Regions from separate parts of the Homo sapiens genome. Here all the other regions are linked to region 5. The links are contacts of gene promoters, found by promoter capture Hi-C in blood cells and fetal thymus (Javierre and others, 2016). All regions are on one chromosome and are shown on one strand. The core of a region is centred on a gene start or on the middle of the fragment in contact, and the rest is flanking DNA. Distances in the headings are between cores, read along the strand shown. Region 1 holds the start of SCO2 (synthesis of cytochrome C oxidase 2). Region 2 overlaps LMF2 (lipase maturation factor 2). Region 3 holds the start of MOV10L1 (Mov10 like RNA helicase 1). Region 4 overlaps MOV10L1 (Mov10 like RNA helicase 1). Region 5 holds the start of PLXNB2 (plexin B2).

Region 1 (2,700 bases), core at 201-2,700, 220 kb before region 5:
CCTCTTCTGCCCGAAGTCCCTCCCTCCTTCACGGCTTCCTAACCTGCTGTGACTTTAGAGGTCAAGGCTGGCCCGGCCTGGACCTGGGGAAGCCCTCTGTGGCGTTCCTGCCCCAGACCAAGTACAAGTTCCTCCTGGCCCCATGGCGAGGTGTCGCACTTCACTCGTGTCTCTTCCCCACCCCAATCCTTCCCTGACTTCATGCTGGGGGGCTGGCAACCCAGGGTGCAGCAGGGGCTGGAGTTCGACCAAGAACCGGCTGCAGAAGGCCCCGCCATGGGGGGTCCACGCTGAGCCTCCTCTCCGCAGGTTGGCGTGGGAGCCAGCCTAGGGCTTCGGGTCGCGGCAGCGCTGACCGCCATGGACAAGCCCCTGGGTCGCTGCGTGGGCCACGCCCTGGAGGTGGAGGAGGCGCTGCTCTGCATGGACGGCGCAGGCCCGCCAGACTTAAGGGACCTGGTCACCACGCTCGGTGAGGGGGACGGGGTGTAGGGGAGCGGAGGCGGCGGGGGGTGCTTCCCGCTGGGGCCGCCCCGACCCGGCCGCGCCTAAGACCCGTCCCCGCCCGCAGGGGGCGCCCTGCTCTGGCTCAGCGGACACGCGGGGACTCAGGCCCAGGGCGCTGCCCGGGTGGCCGCGGCGCTGGACGACGGCTCGGCCCTTGGCCGCTTCGAGCGGATGCTGGCGGCGCAGGGCGTGGATCCCGGTCTGGCCCGAGCCCTGTGCTCGGGAAGTCCCGCAGAACGCCGGCAGCTGCTGCCTCGCGCCCGGGAGCAGGAGGAGCTGCTGGCGCCCGCAGATGGTGAGCGTCGGGGGAGTCCCCGTCCTTCCGCCTCCGCCATCCCCTTCCCTTCCCGAGGCCCCGCCCCTTCCCGAGCCCGCGCCTCTCAGCCCCTCTCCCCGCAGGCACCGTGGAGCTGGTCCGGGCGCTGCCGCTGGCGCTGGTGCTGCACGAGCTCGGGGCCGGGCGCAGCCGCGCTGGGGAGCCGCTCCGCCTGGGGGTGGGCGCAGAGCTGCTGGTCGACGTGGGTCAGAGGCTGCGCCGTGGTGAGCGCCGCCCCCGCCCTGCTGGCCCCGCACCCCCGCCCAGCTCCGGCCGCGCGGCCTCTAACAGCCCCTCGCTCTGCAGGGACCCCCTGGCTCCGCGTGCACCGGGACGGCCCCGCGCTCAGCGGCCCGCAGAGCCGCGCCCTGCAGGAGGCGCTCGTACTCTCCGACCGCGCGCCATTCGCCGCCCCCTCGCCCTTCGCAGAGCTCGTTCTGCCGCCGCAGCAATAAAGCTCCTTTGCCGCGAAACCTTGTCAGTGCTTGGGCGGGAGCGGAAGGATCCAGGGCTGCGGAGGCGGGGGCCGTCTCGATGAACACGTGACCCCCGGCGGGCTCCGCCTTCCGCGCACGCGCTGAGAGCCTGTCAGCGGCTGCGCCCGTGTGCGCATGCGCAGCTCCGGGGACGCCTGCGCCCTGCCTGTGAGCGTGTGGCGCCCGCTTTCCCTGAGCCGGCGGGGCAGAGCGCAGGGAGCTGGAGGTCGGCGCTTCCTCTCGTGCTTGGTCCACTGACGCGCGGCCCCGCCGCGAGGTGCGGACGCCGGGGCTGGGAGGGGAGGAGGTAGCCCTGAGGACTCGCTGGACTCCGGGGTAGTTTCCCAGCTCCGGCTACTGCGCGGGGCTGGCGGGGCACACCCCAGGGCGCGCTGGAGGCCGGAGCGAGGCTGGGGCGCCCGTGGGAGGCTCCCAGCAGGCACCGGTGTTCTCGCGGCCAAGCACAGTTATAACGCGCTCGCGCGGCGCTTCGAGTGGTCCTGGAACCTTTCTGGCCACGAGGGCGCTGGCCTTGCTGGGGAGGGCACAAACCCAGAACCGCCCGGGCGGGGGTGCAGTGAGTCCTCGGGAGGGTGCCCTCAGCAGGAGGGGGCAGTGACCGGGAGTCCTGAGACCTCCACCTAGCAAACCTTCTGCGGGGGCCCGTGGGAAAGGCTCAAAGGTCACCAACGCAAAGGCAGGGCGTCGGCTGTGAGCCCGGAGGAGCTGCTGGGAAGCCTGGATGTGAGGAGGGTGGGGTTTTGTGGCGGGTGGAAGTGTCGTGCGTCTCTGCCAGGAGAGGTTAAACACAGCCGGCGGGCAGAGTCTGAGCTCCGGGGGTAGGTCGTGCAGGTTTTCTGCTGGGAGTGTGGAGGAAGGCCGCGGTTGGTTGAAGTGGCTGGAGGTAACAGGAAAGTGTTGGAGGAATCGGTTGCTCTCGGGGATTGCAAGCCAGAGAGTTACCCACCTCCTTTTAAGAAATGGGTTTATTGCAAATAGATAACGTGGTTAGTTCAGGCAAGGCATGCACTTGGAATGCTTTCCGTCAGCAAGAGGTTCACCTTGCTGAGGTGCAGGTGCAGGGCAGGGTGCGGTGACAGGCTGGTGATCCCAGGTAGAGGACAGGAGTGACAGGTGTGGTTGCCCAGGTGTGGATGTTTGGTGGAGGTGGAGTTCTGAGCTCAGGTGAGCAGCTGCAAATGCCTGTTAAGCCTGAACGTGGGCTGGGTCCTTCAGATGGGTGGCTGGTCTCAAGTCGCAGGGGCAGCCCAGGCACTGTCCTGGGCCTTCCCTTCTGGCTCCTGACGCCTGTGCTTGTTTCCAGGAGCATCAGATCCATGCTGCTGCTGACTCGGAGCCCCACAGCTTGGCACAGGCTCTCTCAGCTCAAGCCTCGGGTCC
Region 2 (5,938 bases), core at 772-3,271, 190 kb before region 5:
GCTGTGTGCCTGGTGCTGCTTTCCCAGGAGGCATGAGGATGGGATTGTCTCCCCTGCCCCAGGCAGTGGGCCGCCCAGAGCACAGTCAGGCTCCGCCACGGCGTGGCTCCCTGGGCACCCTCCTGCCCCGTCCTCAGCATTCTCTCTGAAGAGGCCTGGCTTGGTGTTGCCCACTGCCTGATCACAGAGGAGCCTCAGGCCTGGCACAGCCCGGTGGACCTGTCAGCTCCACACTCCAAGGTCGGTGGTGGAGCCGGTCCCTCACTTCCCTCCTGCTCCCACTTCTTGGCCTCAGGAAAGGACGGAAGGGCCAGAGTGGGCAAGGGGAGAAGGAGAGATGAGGTGGGCAGGTTAGAAGAGGCTCCTCTGCAGAGTGAGGCCAGGGGGAGGGTAGCTGGAGGCCCTGGGTTGGGACGGAGGAGGGAAGGTGCATCTGATGCCCCTGGCCTCCATCCTGGGAAGAGAACAGCAGCAGAGACAGCAGTCAGGGCACCGTCCAGGTTTCCATTTGGGGTCAGGTTATCAATCAGAGGTCACTGCCCACCCTGGAAACTCACAGCACAGCTTCCTCTGCCTCTGGCCCGTCCTCTTGGTACAGCCCCTGCCTCCTGGTCTCCTGCCAGACCCCTGGGCAGCTCCCAATGTACCCAGCTCCCTCATGTCACTGACCTCCATCTGGCCCACCCAGGCAGAGCCCTGTGCTCAAACACAGCCTGTGGCGTGAACTCTCAGATGTCTTCAAGGGGCTCCTATACATGGAATAAACAATCGAGAAGTCAGCCTTGGCTTAATAATAGGCTGGGCGCTGTGGCTCATGGCTGTAATCCCAGCACTTTGAGTGGCCGAGGTGGGTGGATCACCTGAGGTCAGGAGTTCGAGACCAGCCTGGCCAACATGGTGAAACCCAATCTCTACTAAAAATACAAAAATTAGCTGGGCATGGTGTCGGGTGCCTGTAATGCCAGCTACTCCACAGGCTGAGGCAGGAAAATCGCTTGAACCTGGGAGGCAGAGGTTGCAGGGAGCCGAGATCATGCCACTGCACTTCAGCCTAGACAACAGAGTGAGACTCCATCTCAAAAAAAAAAAGTAATATGTTTAAAACTAAAAAACCTGTTCCTAGGCTTCTTGGCTTTCTAGACAGGGTCTCACTCTGTTGCCCAGGCTGGAGCACAGTGGTGCAGTTGTGGCTCACTGCAGTCTCAGACTCCTGAGCTCAAATGATTCTCCTGCCTCAGGCTGCCATCACCACCCACACTCCCCTTGTTGCCCAGGCTGATGTTCCTGAGTTTTTTTTTTTTTGAGACGGAGTCTCGCTCTGTCACCCAGTCTGAAGTGCAGTGGCAGGATCTCGGCTCACTGCAAGCTCCACTTCCCGGGTTCGCGCCATTCTCCTGCCTCAGCCTCTCTGAGTAGCTGGGACTACAGGCGCCCGCCACCACACCTGGCTAATTTTTTGTATTTTTTTTTTAGTAGAGACGGGGTTTCACCATGTTAGCCAGGATGGTCTCGATCTCCTGACCTCGTGATCCGCCTGCCTCGGCCTCCCAAAGTGCTGGGATTACAGGTGTGAGCCACCGCGCCCGGCCTGATGTTCCTAAGCTTTCAAGCTCACTTGATGAATGCGTTCTGTGTTTTGTTTTGTGTAGCAGCTCTCTTGGTAAGCCACGTGCTACACAATTCACCCGTTCAAGTGCGCAATTCAGTGGCTTTCAGTTTATTCACAGAGTTGCACGTCTATCACCAGAGTCCATTTATTTACTTATTTAGAGATGGAGTCTCACTCTGTCACCCAGGCTGGAGTGCAGTGGCACAATCTCGGCTCACTGCAACCTCCACCTCCTGGGTTCAAGCGATTCTCCTGCCTCAACCTTGCAAGTAGCTGGGATTACAGGCGTGCACCACCACACCGGGCTAATTTTTGTAGTTTATTAGTAGAGATGGGTTTTCACTATGTTGGCCAGGCTGGTCTCGAACTCCTGACCTCAGGAGATCTGCCCACTTCGGCCTCCCAAAGTGCTGGGATTATAGGCATGAGCCACGGCGCCTGGCCCGGAGGCCATTTTAGAACCTTTCATCTCCAGAAGAAACCCCAAACCCTTTAGCCTTTGCCCTCTGACCCCTCCCTGCCAAGCCCTAAGCAACTATTCATCTACCTTCTGTCTCTGTGGATTTACCTACTCTGGATATTTCCTGTAAATTGGATCAGTAACATGGGACCTTTGTGTCTGGCTTCTTTCACTCAGCACGGTGTTTTCAAGGCCACACCCACGTCATAGCACGTATGAGCGCTGTGTTCCTTTAGGGCTGAGTCAGTCCAGTGTACGGAGGGGCCACGTTTTCCCTGTCCTTATTCATTCGTATATCGATAGACGCTTGCGTGGCTTCCGCCTTTCCTATGTGAATAGTGCTGCTGTGAACATTGGATATGCAAGCTTTTGTGTGGGATTACAGGTGCACGCTACCACACCCAGCTAATTTTTGTATTTTTAGTAGAAACGGGGTTCGCCATGTTGGCCAGGCTGGTCTTGAACTCCTGACCTCAAGTGATCCACCGCCCCCCCCCCCCCCACCATCCTGCCAAAGTGCTGGGATTACAGGTGTGAGCCACCACGCCCAGCCTATATAGAACTGATTTGATGAGAAGCTGAGTCTCTAACAGATGCAGTGACTAAGACACCATTTGGTCAAAGAACCATATAGGCTGTGCACCGGGAGGAAACACACACAGGCTGTTTCCTAGTAAAATGCAAAAAAAAAAAAAAAGGAATAAAACCACTTGCATTTGTCAAAAATAAATTTTTAAGCCGGGCATGGTGGCTCACACCTGTAATCCCAGCACTTTGGGAGGCCGAGGCGGGTGTATCTCCCAAAGTCAGGAGTTCAAGACCAGCCTGGCCAACATGGCGAGACCGTGTTTCTACTAAAAATACAAAAATTAGCCGGGCGTGGTGGCAGGCGCCTGTAATCCCAGCTACTCAGGAGGCTGAGGTAGGAGAATTGCTTGAACCCAGGAGGCAGAGGTTGTGGTGAGCCAAGATCGTGCCATTGCACTCCAGCCTGGGCAACAGGAGTGAAACTCCGTCTAAAAAAGAAAAAAAAAATTTGCATGGAGACATTTGTGGCTGCTGTGTATATTACACTCATTAGCTGGAAACTGTTTATGAGGTGATAGCTAAGTAAGGGATCCATTAGGGGAATGAGCTACTGCCTTTGTGTATAACAACTGTCGAGAAGAAATAGTTAAGTGATACAATCATAATTTTATAAAAAGAGAATCTGGGCCAGGCGCGGTGGCTCACGCCTGTAATCCCGCCACTTTGGGAGGCCGAGGCGGGCAAATCACCTGAGGTCAGGAGTTCAACACCAGCCTGGCCAACGTGGCAAGACACTGTCTCTACTAAAAGTACAAAAAAATTAGCCGGGTATGGTAGTGTGTGCCTGTAATCCTAGCTACTCGGGAGGCTAAGGCAGGAAAATCGCTTGAACCTGGGAGGCGAAGGTTGCAATGAGCCAAGATCGTGCCACACCACTCCAGCCTGGGCAACAGAGCAAGACTCCGTCTCAAGAAAAAATAAAAATAGGCCGGGTGCGGTGGCTCATACCTGTAATCCCAGCACTTTGGGAGGCCGAGGCGGGTGGATCACGAGGTCAGGAGATCGAGACCATCCTGGCTGACATGGTGAAACCCCATCTCTACTAAAAAAAATAGAAAAAATTAGCCAGGCGTGGTGGCAGGCACCTGTAGTCCCAGCTACTTGGAAGGCTGAGGCAGGAGAATGGCGTGAACCCAGGAGGTGGAGCTTGCAGTGAGCCGAGACGCCACTGCACTCCAGCCTGGGCGACAAAGCGAGACTCCGTCTCAAAAAAAAAAAAAAAAAAACAACAAACGGAGAAGTAGGTCCAGAATTTGTCAATAGTCAGTGACTTTGGAGATGGGATTTTTTTTAGTTATTTTGTGCTGATTCATATATGCACATTCCTACTTTATTATTACCCATTACATAACACATATGCTTGAATATTCAAGGAAACACACCTCTATAAGCAATATTCAAGAGTAACTACTGGGCTTGAGAATAAGTGTGTCAGAACAAATGAGATCCTATGAGAGAGAAGGCAGGAGCCAGGGAGGACGATCCCAGGGCTCGGCAGGGAGGCGGAGCCGTCAGAGGAGGGCGGCCAACCAAGGAACCACCCCCCGGAGGTTTGCAGAGGTCAGGGTCCCCGCAGGTGATTGGACTGTTGTGGAGTGTCCAGAAGACAGCGAAAGTCTCTGAGTTCACCAGATAACCCAGACCAACTGGAAACCCAGTGGTGGTTCTACAGAAAAAACTAGCACAGGATTGGCTGTGTGAGGGTGGGGTTGGCGTCTGTCTTCGCTGCAGCTCTGTCTGCAGAGCCAGCACCGTAACAGCTCACACTAGCTGCTCAGTATGTGTCTGAAAGTGAATTAATATCTAGGAAGGGATGAAGGCAGGTACTGCTCTCTGCAGAGACTTCCCGCCTGAAATGCCATAGCCCCAGACATTGGAGCTGTCCAAAACCTTGGCTTGTGGAGAATTTCCAGAAGGGGGCACTGTGGACACGGTTCAGCATCTGCCTCCCAAGGCTGGGGCTCCATGTCAAAAGAAGGTGAGACGACCAGGCACAGCGGTCACTCCTGTAATCCTAGCACTTTGGGAAGCCACAAAAGGATCACTTGAGGCCAGGGGTTCAAGACCACCTGGGCAACATAGCAAGAGCTTCTCTCTACAAAAAAAAAAATTTAAAATGTAGCCAGATGTGGTGGCCTGAACGTGTAGTCCCAGCTACTCAGGAGGCTGAGGCAGGAGGATCACTTGAGCCAGGAGTTCGAGGCTGCAGTGAGCTCTAATTGCACCCCTGCACTCCCAGCATGGCAACAGAGCAAGACCTGGTTTCTTAAAAGAAACAAAAAAAGAGATGAGATTGGGGTGTCCTGCTTCCATGCACGTGGAGGGGAGAACTGGGAACTGTGGACTGTAGGGGATCGAAGACCTTTGGATGGGAAGAGCAGCTCTCCAGAGCTGCACAAGAACCACGGGCAGAGGCCCTGGCTGGTGAGATGATTCTAGCTGTGTGGCTCGCCGAGCAGGAAAAGCAGGAACAGAGACCAGAAATGAGGCTGGGCGCAGTGGCTCATGCCTGTAATCCCAGCACTTTGGAAGGCTGAGGCGGGTGGATCACATGAAGTCAGGAGTTTGAGACCAGCCTGGCCAACGTGGTGAAACCCTGTCTCTACTAAAAATACAACAATTAGCCAGGCATGGTGGCACATGTCTGTAATCCCAGCTACTCAGGAGGCTGAGGCAGGAGAATCGCTTGAACCTGAGAGGCGCAGGTTGCAATGAGCCGAGATCGCACCACTGCACTCCAGCCTGGGTGACAGAGCGAGACGCTGTCTCAAAAAAAAATAATAAAAATAAGTAAATAAATGAAAGTTTAAAATGGCAAGAGTGGCCCAATCTAGAGAAAATGTAATTTGGGAGGGAATAGCTCTCCCTTTACTGTAGCCTTATTATTATGGTATCGACAAAGCAATGTCATATTCTAACTCTGCAGAGATAAAATTTTAAGGGGCAAAAGTCCAAGGCGGAAGTCAAAAGTTTTGCAAGGAAATCGATGAGGTTGGTGATCTGAGCTGGGCGAGGTTGGACAGGTGGGTGCCACGGTCCAGGTGTCTGACTGTCTCTGTCTGGCAAGTAAGCAGAGATCTAGAGCTGTCCTGTGAATTAAGTGGGAGATTGGACAGGGGTGCACACTTGTGTATTGAGGAGAAGGTCGTGGACAAGCTGGGGCAGAGAGCTGGCAGAGAGAATACCCAGGAAGATTTTTTTTTTTTTTTTTTTTGAGACGGAGTCTTGTTCTGTCGCCCAGGCTGGAGTGCAGTGGTGCAGTCTTGGCTCACTGCAACCTC
Region 3 (5,998 bases), core at 870-3,369, 220 kb after region 5:
CCAACATTCAGAAGCACTCTGCTAGTCACAGCATCACTGGAGAAGTAGATCATATCATCAATCATGCCATAATCGCTGCAGTACCTTGTCACGACACCCCGTACAGTTTTCAGCTTAGTGTCACCTGAGGTAGGTAAACAAAGAAGTTATCTTGGCCATAAAAGCAAGCGTACGCTACAGTGAACCCCACCAGAGAAAGGCAGAGTGCAAAAGCCTCCTTTTTTTGCAGTTCGGAGGCACTGACTCCGAACGGGCTGACTTGAGACAGAGAGAATCCCATCAGAGAGTGCTGTGTCTGGAACGTGGGGTTTGGAGGCAGACAGCCCAGTTTCCTCAGAAGGGCACAGGTAGTGGTTGTGGAGGTGACAGCCCTGACTCCACAACAGACTGCATGGGGTTGACTCCTAGCTCTTCTACTGCCATTGGTGTAACCCTGGACTAGGTCCTTAACTACTCTGGGCCTGTTGCCATCTGTAAGATGGAGACTAATCGTCACTACCCAAGAGAGCTGCTGAAGGGTTAAGTGGCAGAACACACGTGCATGTATGGACCTCTGCGTGGCTGACACGCGTTAAGTGCTATGTAAATGGCCACTTATATCAGCATCTGGGAGTCATTAGCATGCACGGTTTTATTAGTACTATCGATTATCTTTTTATTACCATCAGCAGCAGCCTCGGAAGACTGGAGAATCTCAACAAACACGGTGCTGGAAAAGGTTCGGGGCTGGGCAGACAAGTCTGGCCCAGGAGCAGCGCACGCCCTCAGCCGTCTGGCCACTGCTGCAGCCACGGTCCTGAGTCCTGAACGTGCCTTTACTGCAGCTTCCCAGCCACGGGAGGAACCTGGGGCGACGGTTACAGTACAGGCATAGGATCTGAGCGCTGCCAAGAGCTGGAGCTCCAGCTACCGCTGAGCGCGTGTTCTACCGAAGAGATCCACGGAGCAAGTGCTCCAGGTAACACAGCCGGCCCCCCGGGCATCGGCCCTCGTGGATCCAGAGGCCCTGAACACGCTGCCTGCAGCAGGAAGCTCCCCTCCTGAAGCCTGTTCCTGTCTTTTCTCACAGAAGGCAATTAGGGACCCACTACTGTGGATTCCATTCCCACATAAGGAAACATCGGGAGAAGCCATCAGAACCTCGGGAGAGGTCGGGCGTGGTGGCTCAAGCCTGTAATCCCAGCACTTTGGGAGGCCAAGGTGGGTGGGTCACCTGAGATCAGGAGTTCGAGACCAGCCTGACCAACATGGCGAACCCCCCCTCGACTAAAAATACAAAAATTAGCCGGGCGTGGTGGCGGGTGCCTATAATCCCCGCTGCTCGGGAGGCTGAGGCAGGAGAATCACTTGAACCCAGAAGGCGGAGGTTGCGGTGAGCCGAGATTGCGCCACTGCACTCCAGCCTGGGCAACAAGAGCGAAACTCCGTCTCACACACACACACACACAAACACCTCAGGAGAAAGGAACGGTGAGGGCATCCGGGCGCATCCCGGGCTTTAGAAAGATGGGCTTGAAAACCAGACAAGGAAATGGCACGCCTTGGCGCAGCGCGTTCTGAAAGGACAGGCCAAGTCTGCGGGGCCGCGTTTTTCGGGGCTTTCTAGACACACCACCGCCAATGACGCTGCGGACAGGGAGGAACGACATGGAGAGACGACTTGGCAGCTGCTCGGCGTAAACACACAAAGTGAGGGCGGGAAGAGGGGCTGGTGTCACCGGAGAGACCTCACAGAGGACGGGCGCCCAGAGCGGCGGGATGCTGTGGGGTCGGAAGCCTCCTGAGGCGAACGGGGATCCCCGCCAGCGGAGATGAGGAAAGGCCGGGCCCAGCGTTGCCTGCCGGCCCGCACTGCACTCAAAGACCTATGGGCGCGGCTCCCTCGTGGCCGACACGCGAGGGCCCGGGACCCGCCTCCCAGCCGCCTCCCGCGAGCCACCTTCCGCGAGCTCGGGCTCCAGCTGCCCGGCTTCCTCCCTAGGGGTGTCCGCCGTCCTCCAGAAGAAGGCCACCAGCTTGGCTGCGAGGCTCAGCATGGCCCTCGCCCGGCCTAGGCTGCCGTCACCGCCGCTGCCGCCGCCCGCACGCGCCCGCGCCGCTCCCGCCGCCCGCCACCAATGGGGTCGCCGCGCCTGGGCATGCGCCTTGGGGTCGTTGCGCGAGCCGGGACCCGTAGCGGTCAGAGGTCGGCGGTTGGCGCCTGGCAGCTCCTGACAAGGCGAGGTGCCTGGTGGGAGTGACGTCATGCCGAGCGCGCAAGGCGGTGTGACCGCCGGGTGGGCGGGGCTTCGAGCGGGCGGGCGGGGCCTCGCGTGGGTGGGCGGAGCTTCGAGCGGGTCCGCCTTCTTGCCGCCCACACATTAGGGAAAAGTGCGCTTTCACCACCCAGAGTGATGTTAGGAGTCGTTTTTTGTTGGTGTTTTTTATCAAGTTGAGGAAGTTCCCTCTATTCCTGTTTTTCCAAGAGTTCTTATGAGTGGGTGTGAAATTTTCTGCAACGCTTTTCTGCATGTATTCAAATGATCCTGTAGCTTTTTATTTCAGCCCATAGGGAATTACATTGTTTGGCTCTCCTTGGAAAACTCACTTGGTCACGATTCGTTATCCTTTTGGTGTATTGCCTGACTCAGCTTGGTAACGCTTTGTCCAAGGTTGGGGACGGTGCTGGTGAAGCAGATTGCTCTGTGGCCGACCTCCCGTTTTCTGTGTCTGTCTGGTTTGGGGTCGGTTTAAGCCGGGCCTGCAGTGACCTGGGAGTAGGATGGGGTAACTTATTCCCTAAAAATTGTGGTAGTATTCGCTGGGGAACCCATTTGGGCTTCGAGATTTCTTTGTGGGAAGGTTTTTAATGAGAAATTCACTTCTGCATCAGCTAGAGGGCTATTCAAGTTATCAAGGTAATATTGAATAAACTTTGGTAATTCTTTTAAGGAATTTGTCCATTTCATCCAATTATTAGATGTCAGATTATTGGCATAAAGTTGTTCAGCATATTTCCTTATTATCCTTTTAACGTCTGTATGGTCCATAATGATGAGCCATCTTTCATTCTTGACATAGGTAATTTATCTCATCCCTCTCATTTTCCTTGATCAGTCTATATTTATCAATTTTATTGAGTTTTTAAAAAAAATCATCCCTTGATTTCATTGATTTTTCTCTATTTTAAAAATATCTTTACACTTTGCGAGGCCAAGGTGAGCAGATCACTTGAGGTCAGGAGTTCGAGACCAGCCTGGTCAACCTGCCAAAATCCTGTCTCTACAAAAAAATACAAAAAAAATTAGCCAGGCATGGTGGCGCATGCCTGTAATCCCAACTACTTGGGAGGCTGAAGCAGAAGAATCACTTGAACCCAGGAGGTGGAGGTTGCAGTGAGCTGAGATCACACCACTACACTCCAGCCTGGGAGACAGAGCAAGACTCTGCCTCAAAACAAAAACAAAAACAAAATACGTATATATATCTTTACTATTCCAGTGGTTTCTGTTTTTTATTATTTCTTTTTTTTTTTTTTTGAGATGGAGTCCTGCTCCGTCGCCCAGGCTGGAATGCAGTGGCATGATCTTAGCTCACTGTAGCCTCCACCTCCCGGGTTCAAGTGATTCTCCTGCCTCAGCCTCCAGAGCAGCTGGGATTACAGGCGTGCGCCACCACGCTGGCTTTTTTTTTTTTTTTTTTTTTTTTTTTTTTTTGTATTTTTAGTAGCGACAAGGTTTTACCATGTTGGTCAGGCTGGTCTCGAACTTCTGACCCGCAGGTGATCCACCCGCCTTGGCCTCCCGAGTGCTGGGATTACAGGTGTGAGCCACTGCGCCCAGCCCCGACTTATTTTTGATTGACATAGCTTTATTTTCCTAGGTCAGATCTGTCAGTCTGATGACAGCCTGGACCTTGCCTGTCCATGGATGCAGAGTGTACTGATAGTTCTTGCTGTGGGAAGGGAGAGAGTGGCGCACTCCCTAGCATTTCAAATCCCCGCTAAGCCTGTGTCTTGGGCTGGGTGCTGGAACACATACAGGAGCCAGCAGGGTCCCAGGGACCTACTGGTTGGTGGGAGATTAGCTTGGAAACAAGAGCGAGCTGCATGAGGGCTGGTGGCTCATGGGCTCCCTGCCAGGGCAGCTCGCAGCGGGTGCTGTGCCTGCAGGGCTGCCCCTCAGCTCCCCAGCTCGGGCCACTCCCTGGGATTCTGGACTCAGTAGACCCGGCAGATGCCCACAGACATCTCGGCCTCATCATGTCCAGAATGGAACTCCAGATCCTCGCTCCACACCTGCTCCACCCTGGTCTTCTCATCTCTGTCCTCACTGCTCAGACAGAACTCAGCAACGTCGCCCTGACAGCAGATTGCGTCCGCTCTTCAAACCCTGTTCAGAGCCCAGTCCCTCCTCACCACTTGCCCACTGCCACCTCAATGCCAGGCAGCACCTGCTCCTCCCACCCCCCAGCCTGCTCTCCACCCAGTGAGTGACCGGATGCTGCTCTGCCCAGACCCCTCCAGCAGGTCTGTCTCAGAGTTGAAGCAGAGTCGTCTCCATACCCACAGGTGCTGGCACCTGGCTGTCCTACCTGTATCCCCCTTGCATGGTCCTCGCCTGCCTTCCCCAACCTGTGGCCTTTGCTTCAACTCTGCCAGCCTCCCCTCCCTGCCTCCTTCTCACTGAGGCCTGCCCTGGCCCCTGCAAACAGCAGCCCCTCATTTCTCTCCCCTGACTTCTTTTCCCTCATAGAGGAAATCATGTGTGTCACTGGATGCATTAGTCTGTTCTCACGCTGCTATAAGGACATACCCAAGACTGGGTAATTTTAGAGTCAAGTCCTTATAAAGGAAAGAGCTTTAATTGACTCACAGTTCCACAGGGCTGAGGAGGCCTCAGGAAACTTACAATCATGGTGGAAGGGGAAGCAAACATGTCCTTCTTCACAAGGTGGCAGGAAGGAGAAGTCTTGAGCAAAAGCGGGGAAAGCCCCTTATAAAAGACCATCAGATCTCATAAGACCTCACTCATTGTCAGGAGAACAGCAGCATGGGGGTAACCACCCCCATGATTCAATTACCTCCCACCGGGCCCCTTCCACGACATGTAGGAATTATGGGAATTACAATTCAAGATGAGATTTGAGTGGGGACACAGCCAAACCATATCACTGTATAACACACTAATTTGTTTATCCTGTGCACTCCTGTGCCCCCAATGAATGTAAACAGCCTATAGGAAGGACGTCACTTCTTTGTCCACCCCATAAATGTTTGTTGAATGTTGAATGATGATGGGACATCAGCAGGCAGAGGGATGAAGGGCATTTTAGGAGCAAGAATTTGTTGGAAGATTGTATGAAAGAACAGGGCCTGTTCTAGAAACTAGTGTTGCCAACAGAAACTTGGGAGCATTTCTCAAGTGATGACTTATGATCTGGGAAGCTGAGGGATTTGCTCTGCAACCTCTGGTTCAGGGCAGCTTGTTTGTATTTCTAAGTGGAGAGCAACTTTTGAAAGAAAAAAATGTTGAAATCCGATTAACATTTTTTTCCAAACAAAAAGAAACACAGGAGGATTCGATCCAGTTGGACCCACTCCCACTAATCCCGTTTATCGCTTTAAAAGATAGTGAAGTTTGGGAGGTTTCTCAATCCATTAAAATGAGTTCTTGACTTCACAGATTATAGTTTTTGAAAATTATTTCTCATCCTTGCTTGATTGAAATGAAGACAACAGAACATTGGCTGTGGTGGCTGGCACAAAATTAACTAACCCTAAAATACTAGTATAGCTTAAACTTTCGTTTATTGCTAAAAATTTATCACTGCTGTTTCCTGTGGGGGTGAGGTTGAGCAAAGTGTTTTGAGCTGCATTTATGCGTACTTGACACTTACGCATTTTGATCGAGGTGATTTAGTGGGCATTTTCACTGGGACAGGGATGCTTGTATGTGTAATCTTACTAAAAGCTAATAAAAACTTACTAAAAGCTAATAAAAGCTTACTAAAAGCTTCT
Region 4 (5,966 bases), core at 487-2,986, 170 kb after region 5:
GCCTATAATCCCAGCACTTTGGGAGGCTGAGGCGGGCAGATCACAAGGTCAAGAGATCGAGACCATCCTGGCCAACATGGTGAAACCCTGTCTTTACTAAAAATACAAAAATTAGCTGGCCGTGGTGCCACCAGCTACTCGGGAGGCTGAGGCAGGAGAATAGCTTGAACCCGGGAGGTGGAGGCTGCAGTGAGCCAAGATCGTGCCACTGCACTCCAGCCTGGCGACAGAGCGAGACTCTGTCTCAAAACAAAAAAAAAAAAGGATCCTACACAAGAATTGGTTTTCTGTGTGTTCCAATGTAAGTAGTATTTGTCCTGAACCAGTGGGATTTTCAATTTTTTTCATTATGATCTGTAATTCTTTGTTAAATAACTTCATTATTTTCATAGGATAGATTCTGGAATCTATAAAATCAAAAGTTCTGGGGCCAGGGGTAGTGGTTCACACCTATAATCTGAGCACTTCAGGAGGCTGAGGTGGAAGGACTGCTAGAGTCCAGGAGGTCAAGGTTGCAGTGAGCCATGATTGCGACACTACACTGCAGTTAGGAGGACAGAGGAAGACTCTGTCTCAAAAAAAAAAAGTTTCACGTTAAAAAATTTACACACATTGCTAAGTTTTAGTCTAAAACAGGCTTGTCCAACCAGCGGCCCATGGACTATATACAGCCTAGGATGGCTCTGAATGCAACCCAACACAAACTCGTAAACTTTTTAAAACACTATAAGATTTTTTTGTGATACATATTTTTTTCAGCTCATCAGCTATCATTAGTGTTAGTGAATTTTATGTGTGGCCCAAGACAATTCTTCTTGCAACGTGGCCTAGGGAAGCCAAAAGATTGGACACCCATGGTCTAGAAGGTTATGCCTATAACCTCCTCCCACAACCATTGTGTTTTGCAGAGTGTGACTGACATACAATAAGGTGCACATATTTAAAGTGTGTGACTTGACAAGTCTGACGTGCACATACCCATAAAACCATCAGCACAATCAAGATGACAAATAGACCTGTCAGTCCCCAGAGCCGCCTTGTGCCGCAGCCCCTCCAGTGGCACTGGCTGGCTCACATGCTCTCGAACTTCATACTTCATATAAATGCACACAGTGTGATTCATTGGAGAGCCACCTGTGTTGTTGCATGTCAACAGTTTGCTCCTTGTATTGCTGAGTCATGTTCCATTGTACGAACACAATGCAACTTGCTTATCCATTCACCTGCTCACGGACACTGGGTTGTTTCGTTTTTGGTGATTAAAAACCCAGCTGCTGTGAACTTTGTGTATGGGTCCTCACGTGGCCTTATGTCTTCATCTCTCTAGAGAGAAATGGCTGGGTTGTATGGCAGGTGCGCGTCCAGCTTCTTAAAAACACCTTTTGCACAGTGGTGTGCCACTCCCCATTCCCACAGCAGGGTACGTGCCAGCGGCCCCACGGGCTCACCAACGCGCAGATGGCCCAACTCAATTTCTGGCCATTCTAGCAGGTGTTCAGTGGTACCTCATTGTGGTTTAACTTGTGTTTCCCTAACAACTAATGATGTTGAACATCTTTCATGTGTTTATTACCATCTGTATGTATTCTCTGGTAAAGTGTTCAAGTGTTTGATCCATTATAAAAAATTGAGTTCTTAGGCAGTTTGTAGAGTACTTTCATATGTTTTCCGAATACAAGTTCTTGATCAGATGTGATTTGCAAATATTTTCTCTAGTCTGTCACTTTTCATTGTCTTACCAGTGTCTTTTTTTTTTCTTTGTTTTTTTTTGAGACAGAGTTTTTCTATGTTGCCCAGGCTAGCCTGGAACTCCTGGGCTCAAGAGATCCTCCAGCCTCAGTCTCCTGGGTCACTGGGACTAAAAGTGTATGCCATTGTACCTTACTGTCTAACAATGTCTTTTCAGCAGCAAAATATTTAATTTCACTGAAGTCCAATTTATCCATTTCTCTGTAAGTCATGCTCTTAGTGTCACATAAAAAAAAATCCTTGCCCAAACAGAGGACGTGCAGATGTTCTTCTATGCTGTTTCCTAGATGCATAGTTTTAGGCTTGACATTGCGGCTATAAACCGCAGAGTAAGTTAGTTTTTGTCTGCGCTGTGAGCTATGGACCCAGGTCCATGTTTTGCGCGTGCCCTGCATTTACAGACCACGTGAGGTAAAACAGGTAACTTGATAATATGGAATCTTCCGGCCCAAGAGATACTAATATCTCCCTCCATTGATTTACGTCTTTTGTTGCCCATCTTTTGTCAGATGTATCCCTAATGTTTAAAACATTTAGGTGCTACTTAAAAAAAAAAAAAAATTCAGGCCTGGCATGGTGGCTCACGCCTGTAATCCCAGCACTATGGGAGGCTGAGGTGGGCGGATCATGAGGTCAGGAGTTTGAGACCAGCCTGATCAACATGGTGAAACCTTGTCTCTACTAAAAATACAAAAATTAGCAGGGTGTGGTGGCACGCACCTATAATCCCAGCTACTCAGGAGGCCGAGGCAGGAGAACTGCTTGAATCTGGGAGGCGGAGGTTGCAGTGAGCCGAGATCCGCCACTGCACCTCGGCCTGGGCAACAGAGCGAGACTGTCTCAAAACAAACAAACAAAACACCAAAAAACAATTTCTGAGTGTTTACTGGAAATATATATACAACTTATTTTTCTACACTGATCTTGTATCTTGCAAAATCACTTATTAGTTCTAACAGCTTCATTTTAGATTCCATCAGATTTTTTTTCTTTTCTATTTTTTTTTTTTGAGACAGGGTTTCACTTCATCACTCAGGCTGGAGTGTAGTGGTACAATCACAGCTCACTGCAGCCTCAACCTCCCAGGCTCAAGGGATCCTCTTGCCTCAGCCTCCTGAGTAGCTGGGACTACAGGTGTGTGCCACCATGCCCAGCTAATTTTTAAACTTTTTAAAAATAGAGACAGGGTCTTGCATGTTGCCCAGGCTGTTCTCAGTGATTTTCCCATCTCAGCCTCCCAAAGTGCTGGAATTACCGGCACGAGTCACCACACCCGGCCTCCATCAGACTTTCTACAGGATGCGGATGCCTGTTCTTTCTGCTTCATTGCCTGTCTACAATGCACAATGCTGGGCAGAAATGCTGAGGAAACATGCCCTGATCCTGATCTTACAAGCAAAGAACATTCAGTTATCACTAAGTAGGTTTTTGTAGGTAAAAGAAATTTCCTTTTATTTCTAGTTTGCTGAATTTTGATCAGGAATGGATGCTGGATTTTGTCAGATGCTTTTTCCAAGTCTACTGCCATGATTATATGGTTTTTCCTTTTCAGTTTGTTAATATGGTATATTACACATTTATTTTTGGAATGTTAAGCCATTCCTGGGATGAACCCTCTTGGTCTCATATACATGTGTCATATACATAGATACATATATGTATACATATAAAAATATGTGTATATAAAATATGTGTGTATATATAAAAATATGTATATTTATATATGTATATATAAAATATGTATATTTATATATGTATATATATAAAATATGTATATTTATATATGTATATATATAAAATATGTATATTTATATATGTATATATATAAAATATATATATGTGTATATACATATGTATTTTTTGAGACAGAGTCTTGCTCTGTCGCCCAGGCTGGAGCGCAGTGGCATGATCTTGGCTCACTGCAATCTCCACCTCCTGGTTTCAAGCGATTCTCCTGCCTCAGCCTCCTGAGTAGCTAGGTCTACAGGCACATGCCACCACACCCAGCTAATTTTTTTTCTGGGATGGAGTCTTGCTGTATTCTATTGCCCACGCTGGAGTGCAGTGGCGCGATCTCGGCTCACTGCAGCCTCCGCCTCTGTTCCATGTTAGATAGTTTCTATTGCTCCGTCTTCAAGTTCACTAATTTTTCCTTCTGCATTGTCTAGTCTGCTGATAATTCTGTCCAATATATTTTTCATTCTAGGCATTGAATTTTTCATTCCTAGAAGATAAAATTGTCTTTTATATATCTTTCGTGTCTCCACTTAACCTGCTCATGTCTTCTACTTTCTTGAACACATGGAACATATTTATAACTGTTTTAATGTCCTTGTCTGCTAATTCCACCATGTTATTTCGGGGGGGTTGGTTCCAATTGACTAAATTTTCTCCTTTTGGGTTACGTTTTTCACTTTTTCATTTTGTAACCAGATGTCAGTGTCCATTTTATACCTTGCTGGGTGCTGGATAATTTTATATTCCTATAAATATTCTTAAACTTTGTTCTGGGATGTAATCCAATTATTTGGGAACAGCTTGCTTCTTTTGAGGCTATCATACTTTGTCAGTCTGGGCCGGAGCAGCCTTCAGTCAAAGGCTGGACTTTCTACGCTCCTGAGACAACACCCTCCCATGGATTCTACATGTGAATTACGAGGTTTTTCTTCTCTGGCTGTGGGCACAGCTATTTCTGGCACTGTGTCAACTTTTAAGGATTGTTCTTGCTCCTCCTTCCAGCTGGTTCTTTTCCAGGCCTGGGTATTTTACTCACATCATGCACTGATCAATGCTCAGCTGAAAACTCAAGAAGGAATCTCTGTAGGTGCCCAGCTGCTCTCTGTCCCCTGCCCTCTCCCCAGCACTCTACTCTGTCAGCTTTATCCCCCTTGTCCTCCCCACCCTTCCAAATGCTGTCTCTGTACTCAGGTCACTGCACTCCGCCTGGGCTCCCTCTTGGTGCTCTCTGGCCTAGACACTCTCGGAAGGCTGTGAGTTGGGAAAACCATGAGGTCACCTCATTTGTTTCCTCTCTCAGGAATCCCTGTCCTATGATAGCTGATGTTAATGTCTGAAATTGTTGTTCCATATAGTTTGTCTGATTTTTTATTGTTTCAGGAAGGAAGATAAATCTGGTCCCTGAAATTCTATCTTGGTTGACATATGAAATATTCTTGAGTTTATTTTCAATCTAGTTAATCCATAAGAAGATAAAGTTTCAGGTTTTAAAACCTACAGTCAATTAGGAATGTGCCCACCTAAATAGTAACACCTCCCTGATCTCACATGCCATCTGCACCACAGACTCTCCCCGAGAATCAGGCAGTAGAATGAACCAGTAATGAGGTGATGACGGAGAAGAAAAGCACTGTCCAAGGAAGACTCTTTTCTATTTGCAGAACAAAAAAGAGATCAACTATGAAATATGCCACAGATGACTTTCAAGGATAACCTCTTGCTGCTTCATTTGTCGTATTTTCCATGATTGTATAGGCATTCTAAACCTATCATTTTTGCATTTTGGGGGAGGAACTATAAAATGGTGAGCATTTTTGAGTATTAGATATAATTTAAAAATTCATGTTATACATTGAAAACATGCTCATAAAACCAAATTTGAATAGCACAAAATAAGTTGTAAGCTCCACCATGACACAGATGATTTTCTTGTTACTAGAAACATGAAGATAAATAAAACCACTTCTATTGTATTCACAAAAATATACTGAGAGCCCAGGACAATACCTGGCATGTAATAGGCACTATATTACTATTTATGGAGTGACTGGATTATAGAAGCTTTTTTTTTTTTTTTTTGAGATGGAGTCTCGCTCTATTGCCCAGGCTGGAGTGCAGTGGCGTGATCTCGGCTCACTGCAACCTCTGCCTCCTGGGTTCAAGTGATTCTCCTGCCTCAGCCTCCTGAGTAGCTGGGATTACAGGTGTACACCATCATGCCCGGCTAATTTTTGGATTTTTAGTAGAGATGGGGTTTCACCATCTTGGCCAGGCTGGTCTTGAACTCCTGATCTCATGATCTGCCCGCCTCGGCCTCCCAAAGTGCTGGGATTACAGGCGTGAGCCACTGCGACCGGCCTAGAAGTTTTTATAAAATATCTTTGCAACATTCACAAAGTTTGCAAATGTTAACAATTTGCGGGGTGTGTATCCTTCCAGACATTTTCCATGCATACACAATCACATAAATGTACCTAAGT
Region 5 (5,379 bases), core at 2,880-5,379:
GTGATGCTTCCCTCAGCCCAACAGGCTGCCCAGGACAGGAGGGACCCTCTCCTGACACAGCCCCCGTCTTGTCTGGGGATGGGAGGCTATTTTGCATATAGTCATCAACTTGAGAAAGGGAGAGACCACTTTGCAGTGTGAAGAGCTCTGCTCACCACCCCTGGTGCTCCTCTGGACACCCACCTGCTTGGGGCTGTGGTTTGTTGGGAGGTAGGGGTTGGGCAGGGGGCTGTGTGCAGCCCAGCACCTCTGCTAGGAGAGCTGGCTCAGCCTGGCTCTCGGAGAGCCACAGCACCTTCCTGGCTCCCAGTCCTGGAGCCCCCACCAGGCACCAGCTCCGTGCGTCCCTTCTGGGAGGTGGACAGGGCTCCTGTTGTCCAAGTGTGTCCGTCCATCCCCCACATGCAGCCCAAGGGGCTCTGGACTTCGGCCTGACCCTGCCTCTGGCTGGAGCCTGCATGTCTCCCTTTCCTTGGTAAGGGGTGAACGTCCCTAAGAGCCACCTCTGGGTTGTATGCTCCCCCCGTGACACCTGCAGGCACTGAGGCCGGTGAGGTACGGTGTTGACCCTGCACAGCACACAGTGACGGTACTGTCAGGGCTCCGGACAGCCAAGCCCTGCTCAGCATCACGCACTGTGTGCCCGGGAGCAGGTCCCCTGACCACTCAGACCCTCAGACTCCTCATCTGAGCGAGCCAGCCATGCAGATGCCCGACAGGGTGCTGGGAGGGCCACTCATGGAGACTGGGCTTTGTACCCTGTGAGGCCGGGCGGGTGCTGGCCAGGGGACACAGGGCTGGGGGAGGGACTTTTTCTTTTTTTTTCTTTTTGAAATGGAGTCTCGCTCTGTTGCCCAGGCTGGAGTGCAGTGGCATGATCTCGGCTCACTGCAAGCTCTGCCTCCCGGGTTCACGCCATTCTCCTGCCTCAGCCTCCCGAGTAGCTGGGACTACAGGCACCCACCACTGCGCTTGGTTAATTTTTTGTATTTGTAGTAGAGACAGGGTTTCACCATGTTAGCCAGGATGGTCTCGATCTCCTGACCTCGTAATCCGCCCGCCTCGGCCTCCCAACGTGCTAGGATTACAGGCATGAGCCACCGCGCCCGGCCGGGACTTTTCTTTTTCTTCTGAGGCCCCCATTCAGTCCGAGGAATGTAGCCTTCATTCAGCGCAACGTACTGTTTGTGTTCTCATTGGTGCTCTCAGACCTCCAGCCAGGTGGTGGAGAGCGAGCACTGCCAGCCACTTCAGTGCAGGATGTGACTGAGCCACAAGGACAGCGGGGTCAGGTGTCCGGGCGCCAGGTAGTTCTCAGAACTTGGTACATGTCAACTTGTCCAGCCCAACTGCAGCCCAGGACAGCCTGTCCCTGTTCCCATTCTACAGACAAGACGCGGAGGCAGCCGGGAGGGTGACCAAGGGGAGCTGTTAAGCCCCAGATGTCTGGTGCAGGGTCCAAGGATGTGACCACATGAAACAGAACACATAGAGGCCGAGGTGGCAAACCTGTTCTGTGGCAGGGACAAGCCGGGGACCCGAGGGTGAGAAAGGTCCTGGCCCCAAATGCAGCTTGGGCCTCCTGACTGTAGCACAGGGGGACCAGCCTCCCCACTGAGGGCTTGGTCTCTAGAGGGTCTGCAGAGATGCTGGCACCTCTTGTGTGGGCAGCTTGAATGCTGACCTCCATAAGATGGGGCCTGGGGGGCCAGTACAGGCCCTGCCATCAGCTGCCCTCCACCAGGGCCCTCTGCAAAAGCCTTATGCTGGTGACCAGCCCCCTGAGGACCACCACTTCAAGGTGTCGGGGCAGCTTGGGAAGACAACCCACCTCTCTCACAACTGTGACCCCACTTTGGGGAGCGCACCCCAAGGACCGTGGCAGCATGTGCTTCCCCACAGCACAGTCTCGCCTCACTTGGCTTTCTGAGGGCTGCCGCACAGCACAGAGGGCTGCAGACCCACATGGCTGCAGGGGAGGGGCTTCAGGCTGGTCTCTGAGGAGCCCCCAGGGACCCTGGCCACTGTGTATCCAGAAATGCACAAGCAGATTTCCCTGGAGGGCTCTGGTGAGGCCACATAGTGGCGTGTGAAGGGGGAACTTGAGGGGGGAACCGGGCTGGGTGGCCAGCATTGCCCTGGGCAGAAGCTAAGGCTAAGGTGGGGGGTAGTGTCCCAGCCCCTCTTCCTCAGGGCCTGTCCCCACCTGTGCAGAAGAGGCCTGGGGTGGAATGTGGCCTGGGGTGGATGGGTGGGGGCTGGGCGTGGAGACCTGCCAGCTCCATCTGTCCGGATGCCTCTTGTGGCCCCCCCAGTGTCAGGGCCGCTCTGAGTTGGCTGAGCCTCTGTCCAGGGCTAGGCCATGGCCCTCCCCGCCCCACGCACTCCAGGCCAGGGGCAGTCAGTGAAGAGGCAGGAAGGTCCAGACAGCTCTACCCCTGGCCAGAGTGCCAGCCCCCGCAGGCAAGAGGGCTTGCTGGGCAGAACTTAGTTGGCGAGGGTGAGGACTGCTGTGGTCACAGGCCTCCCGAAGGACAGGGACCACAGAACCTAGAGGGTGGGAAGGGCTGGGAGCAGGTCTGGAGTGGGGCTCGGGGCTGAGGGTGCACACAGGGGGCCTGCTCAGGGACAGGAAGGACAGCTGCTCACCCTCAAGCTTCCTGCTGGCTATTTAAAGACTCCCTTTTAGTCTAGAACAGTGGCCTTCCCACAGTTTTGGTATTAAAATGTCCTTTTGTGACTGGACCTTGTCTTTTCCTTTTTTGATAAAAAGTTGGCAACCTTGTCAGAACCTGGTAATTTTGGGGTCCTCTGCAGTGAAGGGTAGGGTTGCCGTGATGTGGATTGTGGTTCAAGGCCCAAGGGAAGATTTTGGACAGGAACAAGGCCTGGCTGCTTGAGGGTGGGAGAAGGCAGAGACTGAAAGAACTAAGTCAGGCTGGGGGAGTTTGTCAGGATGTGGCGGGGCGGATCCCGGGTGGGGGAAGCAGAGGAGGAGGGGATGCCTGGCTGGGGACAGGAGGAAGCTGACCAGCTGCAAGGACGGGGCAGGTCTGGGTGGAAGGCGGGCCCCAGGGAGGGGTGACCCAGGGTGGGGGCAAGAGCTTGGGGAATGCTTCTGTCTCCTGCTCAGCACATCCAGTTCCGGGAGGGCAGTGGAGGCGTGCTCCAAGGTCTGGCCCTGCAGACGGTTCACCACCTCTTCTCAAGCCCAGGGGACACTAGGAGCACTGAGGCCAGGACTTGGGACCTGGGATGCCAGAAGTGGGGCCAGCTCTGTCCCAGAAACCAGAACCCCCAGAAAGAGGTCTCGGCCCGCCCACCTCCTGGCCCTGAAGGACCAGGTGGGGTCCCGGGTGCAGCATCCCAAGGTGCTGCTGGAGGCCAGGGATGTGCTGGGAGGCCATCTCCAGGTCCCAGTTTACCCTGGGAGGTTGAGGGCCTGAGACCCCTGGGAAAGGGCCAAAGCCCAGCAGCCCCCACCCCTGAAGGCCGCAGGGGAGCGACTGGTATGCTTCCAGTCTGGGAGTGAGAGTCTGGTGCCCACACATCTCAAGACTGGCAGGGACCCTCACGTTCCTCTGGCCAGGCGAGAGTGCACTCATAATGCCCTCCCCTGGTACCAAGCCATGGCCTCCCCTCAGACCTGCGGGGTTCCTGTGGGGGTGCTCAGGCCATGGGGCCTCTGTGGGCGCTCGTGCTTCCTGGACGGCGGCATGGTGGGCAGGGTGCTGCCCTGGCTGAACCTGGGTCTGAACTGGGGTGCCTGAACCTACCAGACAATGCTGTGGCCGCTGGGCAGGGGAGAAGTGGGGGGCGCGGGGAGCGCAGGCCCAGCCCCTCCCCTCCCGTCCCCTCCCCTCCTCTCCGGTTCTCTTCTGCCCTCTCCTCCCCGCTCCTGCTCCCCCTCCCCTCCCCCTCCCCCTCTTCCCCCTCCCCCTCTCCCCCTCCCCCTCTTCCCCCTCCCCCTCTCCCCCCTCCCCCTCTCCCCCCTCCCCCTCCCCCTCCTTCTCCCCCTCCGCTTTCCCTCTCCCTCTCCCCCCTTCTCCTGTTCTCCCCGCCCTCCCCTCCTCTCCCTCGTCGGGGGCGGGGCCGGCAGCTCCCGCGCGCTCCGGCCCCTCCTCGGCCACACAAAGGCCCCGTCTCCATGGCAGCAGCGCGGGCCAGAGCGCAGCGCCGAGCGCGGCCCGGGCGCCATCGAGCCTTGGCGGCGGACGTGCAGGTACCGAGCTCGGGGGACTGGGCTGCGGGGGACGTCTCGCTGGGCGTGGGGGGGGCTTCGCCGTCAGCGCCGCTCCGCCCGGGCCTGCCGCGCTGGGGCCCGGGGACCTGCGGCGGCTGCGGCTCCGCGGAGGGCTCCCGGGGCCTGGGCCCCGTCCGTCGGTCCATCCGGCGAGGCCCGGGCCGCTGCCGCCCCACTCCCTTCCCGGTGTTGACTCGGGGGACGGGCCCGGCGGCGGGGGCTGCGCGTCCCTCCGGAGCCGCGTCGGATCCCTCCTCCGCGCCTGCCTCTCACTCTTCAGCCGCCGAGCTCCGTGCGCCGAGCGGAGATGGTCTCGCGGTGCGGGCGCTCCGGGCCGGCCCCAGGCTCAGCGGCACAGGAGCCTGGATTTGCCCGAGCTCCCGGGGGCCGTCCCCGCACCCCCTGGGGCCTGCTTGGCGCGGGGGGACCAGGGCGGAGAGCACCCGCACCTGGCGAGACCCCACTGCCTGGGCCTCCTCGCGGTTCCCAGAGTGGCGTCTGGGTGGACACCCCGAGACACAGAAAGTCTCAGAAGCGGGGGCGCGAGCCCTGCCTGTCCCCTGCTGACCCTGCCCCTCCGCACCCTGCTCCTGCAGGAAGCCCCTGCCCTGCCAGCGCCCCTGGTCGGGCTATTCGGCAGATCTGGGGAGCCCGCCTCCCCCTGTCATCTGGGGGTCTCAGAGCCCGGACGCCCTGGGGCTTCCTGCCAGGCCCTTGATTTCTCTTCCCGAAGCTCCCTGGGAAAGGAAGAAAGGGGTCCGTCTGCCCACTGTGGGCTGTGGCAGAGTCAGGACAGGGGGTGAGGGTGAGGGTGAGGGTGAGGGTGAGGGTGAGGGTGAGGGTGAGGGTGGGCCCCAAACCCGGCAGATCCCGGCGGCCTGGAGGGCTCCCTGTGCCCCACCTTCCCTGGACCCCCCCGCCCTCCCCACTTAATGTCTGACTTCGGCCCTTGCTTGGAGGTTCGGCGCAGCCTGTGAGGCTTTAAAGTTGAGCTTCCTCAGGAGCCCTTTGCGGGTGGGAGAGCGAGGCTGCCGGGAAGTGGGGGCTCTCAGCCTGCCCCATGCCCAGATGACCCTGGCACGGAACAGCTGAACAGCTGGTGGGAGGAGCCCTCCCTTTCCTGTCCAGAGGTGAGG

What was found. The method cuts DNA at HindIII sites, captures the fragments that hold promoters and counts their contacts. A CHiCAGO score of 5 or more calls a contact.
Region 1: the fragment with the promoter of SCO2 here is called in contact with the fragment with the promoter of PLXNB2 in region 5 in 8 of 17 cell types (naive CD8 T cells, M2 macrophages, monocytes and 5 more); the score reaches 7.8 in naive CD8 T cells.
Region 2: a contact is called between a fragment that was not itself captured here and the fragment with the promoter of PLXNB2 in region 5, in 6 of 17 cell types (naive B cells, M0 macrophages, naive CD8 T cells and 3 more). The highest score is 7.9, in naive B cells.
Region 3: a contact is called between the fragment with the promoter of MOV10L1 here and the fragment with the promoter of PLXNB2 in region 5, in 2 of 17 cell types (neutrophils and activated CD4 T cells). The highest score is 6.6, in neutrophils.
Region 4: a fragment that was not itself captured here is called in contact with the fragment with the promoter of PLXNB2 in region 5 in 2 of 17 cell types (neutrophils and naive CD8 T cells); the score reaches 5.7 in neutrophils.

The regions. Positions count from the first base shown.
Region 1 is chr22:50,524,348-50,527,047 of GRCh38, reverse strand. SCO2 (synthesis of cytochrome C oxidase 2) reads left to right here and starts at 1,450. Exons shown (of 2, transcript NM_005138.3): 1 at 1,450-1,576; 2 at 2,624-2,700. The coding sequence starts at 2,637. NCAPH2 (non-SMC condensin II complex subunit H2) reads right to left here. Exons shown (of 20, transcript NM_152299.4): 20 at 2,268-2,700. TYMP (thymidine phosphorylase) reads left to right here. Exons shown (of 10, transcript NM_001953.5): 7 at 310-472; 8 at 572-802; 9 at 907-1,047; 10 at 1,130-1,296. The coding sequence ends at 1,278. RefSeq lists enhancers at 1-240, 49-348 and silencers at 439-1,268, 1,479-1,778. The HindIII fragment of the contact is 21,491 bases long and covers 1-2,700 here.
Region 2 is chr22:50,497,013-50,502,950 of GRCh38, reverse strand. It overlaps LMF2 (lipase maturation factor 2), which reads left to right. Exons shown (of 14, transcript NM_033200.3): 14 at 1-2. Among named protein-coding and RNA genes, the nearest start is that of LMF2, 7.7 kb to the left of the region's middle. The HindIII fragment of the contact is 833 bases long and covers 1,605-2,437 here.
Region 3 is chr22:50,086,127-50,092,124 of GRCh38, reverse strand. MOV10L1 (Mov10 like RNA helicase 1) reads right to left here and starts at 2,119. Exons shown (of 27, transcript NM_018995.3): 1 at 1,940-2,119; 2 at 1-124. The coding sequence starts at 2,036. The HindIII fragment of the contact is 7,134 bases long and covers 1-5,984 here.
Region 4 is chr22:50,135,350-50,141,315 of GRCh38, reverse strand. All of the region lies in intron 15 of MOV10L1 (Mov10 like RNA helicase 1), which reads right to left. Among named protein-coding and RNA genes, the nearest start is that of PANX2, 32 kb to the left of the region's middle. RefSeq lists a silencer at 1,254-1,438. The HindIII fragment of the contact is 7,627 bases long and covers 1-5,549 here.
Region 5 is chr22:50,306,396-50,311,774 of GRCh38, reverse strand. PLXNB2 (plexin B2) reads left to right here and starts at 4,129. Exons shown (of 37, transcript NM_012401.4): 1 at 4,129-4,222. It overlaps DENND6B (DENN domain containing 6B), which reads left to right. Exons shown (of 20, transcript NM_001001794.4): 20 at 1-2,745. RefSeq lists silencers at 3,058-3,107, 3,808-3,857, 4,018-4,217, 4,228-4,297, 4,818-4,968 and an enhancer at 5,276-5,379. The HindIII fragment of the contact is 14,640 bases long and covers 2,659-5,379 here.